Regions from separate parts of the Homo sapiens genome. Here region 2 is linked to region 1. The links are contacts of gene promoters, found by promoter capture Hi-C in blood cells and fetal thymus (Javierre and others, 2016). All regions are on one chromosome and are shown on one strand. Each heading gives the region's core, a stretch centred on a gene start or on the middle of the fragment in contact. The rest is flanking DNA. Distances are from core to core; before and after follow the strand shown.

Evidence for each region. The method cuts DNA at HindIII sites, captures the fragments that hold promoters and counts their contacts. A CHiCAGO score of 5 or more calls a contact.
Region 2: a contact is called between a fragment that was not itself captured here and the fragment with the promoter of CISD2 in region 1, in 1 of 17 cell types (neutrophils). The highest score is 7.6, in neutrophils.

The regions. Positions count from the first base shown.
Region 1 is chr4:102,866,911-102,870,244 of GRCh38, forward strand. CISD2 (CDGSH iron sulfur domain 2) reads left to right here and starts at 2,082. Exons shown (of 3, transcript NM_001008388.5): 1 at 2,082-2,277. The coding sequence starts at 2,175. It also overlaps a transcript of UBE2D3 not described here. RefSeq lists an enhancer at 1,533-1,672 and silencers at 1,903-2,192, 2,223-2,342. The HindIII fragment of the contact is 11,662 bases long and covers 924-3,334 here.
Region 2 is chr4:99,841,830-99,845,381 of GRCh38, forward strand. The region is part of intron 3 of DAPP1 (dual adaptor of phosphotyrosine and 3-phosphoinositides 1); the gene reads left to right. Among named protein-coding and RNA genes, the nearest start is that of DAPP1, 27 kb to the left of the region's middle. The HindIII fragment of the contact is 3,832 bases long and covers 336-3,552 here.

The DNA of each region.
Region 1 (3,334 bases), core at 832-3,331:
ACAGTTAACAGAATAGTCCAGAGGACAAGGATATTCAAGTTCCATCATCTTCAGGATAAAAAAGCTCCAGGGTTTACCTCCAAACTCTCTCTAAAGGAAATCCCATCAACCTTTTAAACATCACTTTGTATACACCATCTTCTATACTGCCCTAGCTCAAAAACATGAACCTGTATCTAAACGTGTTTGTAGAATTTCCATTGTAAGTTTTACTTTAACAATTTTGAACAATTATAATGATAGAAAATTATTTAATCTAGATTTTGGTCAACTCTATTACTGATATTCTTTTTTAGTGAAGGACAATCACAAACACTAAATTTATACAGTCCAGAGAATGAAAGATTGCTTTAAAAAATTCCTTCCTTTTCTCACTGTAAAATAAAAATACCAAGGGGAAAAATGGAAAGTATTTATTATAACTGGCTGTTACACTGTCATACACAATGAAATACTGGACCATTAGCAGTTCGTTATTATATGTTGTTAAGTGTAGAACTGTAAATAATGAGGCATATTATTAAGATATCACACACATTATCCAATCAGCAAGTGCACAACTTCGGACATTTTGACTTCAGCCAAAATATGAAACAAAGTCATAGCAAGAAAGTTATTTCAAGGGAGTGAAATTTTCTCCTCTTACCCTTCAAATCTTTTAGAGATATTAATAAAAACAACTATCCAGCCTGGGCGATATAATGGGACTCCATCTACATACACACAAAAATTTTTAAAATTCGTTGGGTGTGGCAGCACACGCCTGTAAACCCAGCTACTTGGAAGGCTGAGGCAGAAGGATCCCTTAAGCCGGAGTTAGAGTCTGCGGTGAGCTATGATCTGACCACTGCACTACAGCCTGGGCGATAGAGCGAAACCTTGTAACAACAACAACAACAACAAAATTAAAACCTTCAAGATCAAGCTTGCCCAACAGGATGGCTTTGAATGCCACTCAATGCAAATCTGTAAACTTTCTTAAAACTTTATGAAAAAAAATTTTTTTTTAGCTCATTAGCTACCATTAGTGTTAGTGTATTTATGTGTGGCCCAAGACAATTCTTCTTCCAGTGTGGCCTAGGGAAGCCATAAGGACCCCCTGCGCTAGACTTCAGCAGAAGCCTTGTAACATAAAGAAAACCATACATAAGGCTTTAGATTCTTTTTTTTTTTTTTTTTTGTGACGGAGTCTTGCTCTGTCTCCCAGGCTAGAGTGCAGTGGCACATTCTCGGCTCACTGCAACCTCCGCCTCCCTGGTTCAAGCGATTCTCCTGCCTCAGTCTCCCGAGTAGCTGGGACAGGCACCTGCCACCGCGCCCGGCTAATTTTTCTATTTTTAGTAGAGACGGGGTTTCACCATCTTGACCTGGCTGGCCTCGAACTCCTGACCTCGTGATCCACCCGCCTCGGCCTCCCTAAGTGCTGGGATTACAGACGTGAGCCACCGCGCCCGGCCAGCTTTGGATTCTTTTACCACTTTCCCGAAGGAAAAGGAACTGAAAATATCTAAGGAAGGACTACTACGAATCTTCTCTGAGTGGCAAAAACCAGAGGTTTTTGGAGCTAGGGCTGCAGTTAAGTTGCCAAGGGGCAGAGATGTAAACAGTTCCTGGTTTAGTTAAAATATTTTAATTTTTATTTTTTTAAGCCTGGCCTTTGGGTGAAGGAGTAAAATTAGGCACTGGGGTCTGGGTAGGGGGAGGATACTCATGGGCGAGTATGCAACCCTAGGGCCACAGCACCCAAACTGTAGGGGAAGAGGCGGGGCGAGAGGGGACGAAGTAGAGACAGCAAGAGACTCACTTTTGAAAGGCACTTTCGGTTAGAAAGCATTCTCACATGCTTATCTCATCGCACACAGTATCCTTTCTGCTGGTCTCCAGCATCTACAGACGTTAAAGGCCCAAGAGGAGGGCCACCTTCACACGAGATTCCGAGGAGGGCCTCGCTACCCGCCAGTTCCCGCGCCTCGGCAGTCCGCCGCGAGCGTACGTCACTCGCCCGCCGCCAATCGGCGCCCGGCAGGTCACCTCTCCTCCCAGGGCCCGCCGCCCCGCCCGCCGCCCAGGCCGAGGCCGCCAGTGCCCGCCGGCCGCTTCCGCTCCCGGCGCAGGCGCGGCAGCTTGGCCAGAGCGGAGGGGGCTCGGGAGAGGAGTGGACGCCGCTGGCCAGGATGGTGCTGGAGAGCGTGGCCCGTATCGTGAAGGTGCAGCTCCCTGCATATCTGAAGCGGCTCCCAGTCCCTGAAAGCATTACCGGGTTCGCTAGGCTCACAGGTAATCCTCCCCCATCAGCCAGTCCCCATCCTTGCACGTTCGCCAAGCGGGGGAAGGAGGCGTAAAAATCCTAGGGCCAAGGGGCGGGACGGAGCTCGGCGCCTGGCACGTGATCCCCGCGCGCAGAGGAAGGTGGGCGCGCGCCGACGCAGCTGCCTGGGGAACGCCTGTGAGGCAGTCTCCGGGTGCTTGATGCCCCAGGGTCTTTTGTCCTCGGAGTTGTCTCCGGTGTCATTCCGTGGCAAGATACCAGGTTTTTGCAGAGAAGGTGCTGAGTTGGGAACAGGCCAGTCTCTTTCATCTCCTGTCCTGCTCATCGCTCTCTGTAGCGTACTTGTTTATTTTAAAGCGGGCTAAGTCGTCGTTATCTAAGGCCTCATGTAACAGGCAGCCCCAGCTACCGGCTGGGTTGTACCCTCAGCATGTGGGTGGGAGTGTGTGGGAGAGAAATATAGACTTACACGTAACACGTATATGACCGTTTTATTTAGTAACGAAATTAGGAGATAACCTCCATTCCCTCAGGTTAGAATTGACCTATCATAGGTGGCATTTGAGGTCATCTCCGTTTCTACGGTCCCGGGGCCCGCTGCGGTAACTTAAGTTGGAAGAAAGATACCTTACCCAAGAAAGTATTCGAAGGCCGGTATGAGGAGTGAAATCTTAGAAAATGAAATTTAGTGAATATATGTAACGTTCTATACTTAAGGACCCTCACTTAACCCACACAACTCATGAGGATTTCACATCTAAAGGATGAAAATCTCCAGAATGCAGTCAACACTTGGGAGATTGTGTTGAGTTATGAGCATTTCATTGTAAGGGGGATATTTCTAAACGGAACTCAGACCGAGTAGGATGGTGAAGGAATCAGCAAGTATTGAACTCCTATGTCCTAGGTTATCAGGGAGTGCAAACATGAATTAAGATAATTCTGAGGTAAATAGGGTTGCTTCGCCGGGAACGTTCTAAAGATCTGTAGTACCTGACCTAAAATACAGCAATCGCACAGCTGTCTGGTAGAAGAAAAATAAGATTTGTGTAGACTAAAATATAG
Region 2 (3,552 bases), core at 1,002-3,501, 3.0 Mb before region 1:
AAGAACTCTTTGTAGTCTTCAAAGCCACTAGAGTTGTCATTTTTCTACTTTCTCTTTTTCTTCCAACCAAAGACAGCTCCCTTCTTTTAAATTCTTCTCCTAGACTCTATTTTCAACTTCTTTGATCATTCCCTGTGCTCCTTCCTGGGCCTTCTCCAAGTTAGGGAAAAGATACATATTCTGCCTACTGGCAGATTTCAAAACATTTAAGATCAAAGTGAAGGCAGTGCTTTCTGGTTGAACCTTTCTGGCACTGATCCAATCATCAGGCAAGAGGATCACCTAAGGATGCGCCAAAATAAAGATGTTTTGATATTGCATTTGGGACAATGATAAGCTTCCTTGTAAATACACTGTTCTGAGTAAAGAAGCCTTATGATTGATGCATTAGGGATTGTAAGGATTTGTCATCCAGACTTCTACAGTAGTTTCTCTAAAACTCAAACCTGCTGTATTATTATCTTGACTACAATTGCCATTTTATTTATTACAATATAACTCAGGAACCTAATATTTTTATCCTCTCCACTGCCTCTCCTCTGTTCTATTCATTATCCAATGAAGAATTTGCTGCTGTTTGAATTCCTGCTTTCGGCCCCTCGTGCTGATGGATATGCACTTGACTTGCTGGCTTCCAGCCCTTGAGTTAGAGTCCACCAGCTTTATTCCTCTTATCTGTCCCAGCCAGATGAAGGGAAAGCCATCAGGGCTAGGAACAACAGGCAAAACCCATGACAGATGAGTGTTCAAATCTTGCCCCTCTGGGAGTAATAGGCCTTGGGAAACAAGATAATGTGCTCAAGTCATGATGACTTGTAAGCCCAGAAATTCCTCAAGGTTACGGAGTCAGCATTGCAGACTATAAAGAATGGTGAATGGAAACTGACATGCCACCTTCTAAAAATAGGCCTTTTCTTCTTGTTCATTTAAGCATGGGCTCCTAGTATTGGCTCCCAGTGATCAGAAGATCTTCAGGCTAACGATTTCATGTTCACCTTCAGATGAAGTACAGATATTTCTTTCTTTTTTTTTTTTTTTTTGAGACGGAGTCTCGCTCTGTCGCCCAGGCTGGAGTGCAGTGGCGCGATCTCGGCCCACTGCAAGCTCCGCCTCCCGGGTTCACGCCAGAAGTACAGATATTTCTTATAGCTTATGTTTGATTAACATCACCAGGAAAAGCATTTGTCCACACAATGGACAAGCCCCTCCCAGGGCTCTCAACTTCAGATTACCAGAATGACAAGGACTAGAATTGGATATTTCAGGCCACTGCTCTCAGCCAGACCCCACCCAGGCCCAGCCTCACCCTGCAGGGTCTAGAGGGTAAGTTTATTAAAGAGTGACTTTCTTATAATACATTTATCTACTGGCACAAGTGGTATTACCTTTGAGGGCAACAGAAATGATATCCAAATAGCCAAAACTTTACACTTTTGCCTTGCAGTTATATATAATGCCTTCAGTAGAGTGAAACCCAGAATATTTGATTTTGGGTCGTAAGAACATTTTTGCACTCAAAATAGATAAAAGTGTTGACCTAAGGGGATTAATGCTATTTTAAGATATCTTTTTTTTCTATTCCCTACTCTTTACACTTTTAGGATTTCTGTTTGCTAATCTGAAAAGCAAGGATTTCCTAAGCAACATCTAAGCCTCTTGACAACTTTAAGAGTATTTTATGATAATTTCCCTTTCCCTTGCCATAATCTCTATTTCATCTCTCTAATCTCCATTAAAGTTTCTGTTCACTCTAATTTCTTTTTATCAATACCCATAAACACTCTTAAGATACTTCCAATTCTCAAAACCTAATAATTTCCCAAGTACATGATAGAGATATACAATGTACTCTCTTGCTTTATTTTTCTCAATGGCCCTTTTACCTTCTGACATCTATAATTCACTTATGTTTTTTAAAAAAATACCTTTTTTTCCACACTAGTGTGTGAACTCCATGAAGAAAGGGACTTTTGTCAGCTTTGCTTCCTGCTATGTCCCAGGACCTGAAAAAATAAGTACTGATCATTTCCACAATATGTCATGCTGGATGCCCCATTTCCAATGCCTGCATTGCAGTTTTTTGCATGGCAACATCAAAACTAGCAAACTTGTGACAATTTTAACTTTCAAAGTTTATAAAAACATAATTTGAAATGATATTTTGTGTTGCATGTATGCTCAGTGATGATTAAATTCAGAATTTGCCTTTCATTTGTGATAGTGTTGCAGGACTTTTCCTTAGTTCAGCTAAAGATCGGGTCCCTCTCCATCCCACGGCCACAAAAATTTAGGCTCGCAGACGGTTTGAAGGGTGAGTGAAGCAGGGTTTTATTGGATGAAAAGAAAGAAAAGAGGGAAACAGGGAAGCTAGAGCGCTTCCTGCCCAGCAGTTTGAATTCTATGTTCCTCACAGGAAGAGGAGGGGCCAGGCTCCTCCCCACTGCAAAGGACACGAACTTCCTAAGGCTTCACCTCAGTGGGCAGGCCGGTTGGAGTTTTTCTGTCTCAATAGTAGGATATCAAATAAAACATATTCATGTCTGTGCATGAACTCTAAACTAAACTCAAATAGACTTGAAAATTTGAGAAACTTTTTTATTAGTATAAATATGTTTGGTCCATTATTAATTTTGTCGTAGCCTCTTGTAATTAGCTAAGTTTCATATATATAGTCTTGAAAATGTAGACGGCATTTATCTTTATGCTTAAATGTCTAAATATGATTAGAACAAAAAATTACTTTTACCATTACCTTTTGTTTATGTTTCAATAATTCTTAACATGAAATTGCCATGTATAATTTATTACATTGTATTGTGACTGTAATCACCTAACAGGCATGAAAAAATATAATACAAGTCAAGTTCTATGTTTGTGCTTACCCTTTATAATAATTGGTTCCCAATTTTAAAGATCTCATCTGGTTTTTTGGTAAATGTCAAATCTCCATTTCTCTTTTTGTTTTGATATGGGGATTCCCAATCTTTTGACGACAGCTACCGCTATTATTATTTTGTTTTGTGACACCACCCAGGTGATATTTTTAAATAATGTGGTTAAAATTAATTTTAATTTGAGAATTGGGTGGTTCTTCAGAAAACAACTAGTGACAACTTAGAATTTTTCCAAACTTCCTTGGATGTTTGCCAAAAATACAAAATGTTCTCAGTTTATAGATGAGTTTTATTCGAAAAAGGAAAAAGCAGCTGAGGAAGGGAATTAAGCCAACATTTTTAGAGTGTTTGCTAGGTTCCAGGCATTCACCTACATCAACTTATTTCATCTCAGCCACCCACAATAATGCATACAACGGTCCTATTTTCAGATGAGGAAAGGAAAACTCAGAGGTTTTAAGTCACTTGCCCAAGTTTTCACTGCTGGTAAACATCAGGGCTGAGATTGGAATCTGGGCTAATCTGGTTCTAAAGCATAGATGCTTTCCATGCACCTTGCTATCTTTTGAAACTGGTCCCACAATAACAGTACATTGTTGCCATGGTACAGTGTGGCCTTAAATGGATTTGGAAGAACTCAGAGCTGAGATTGGAATCT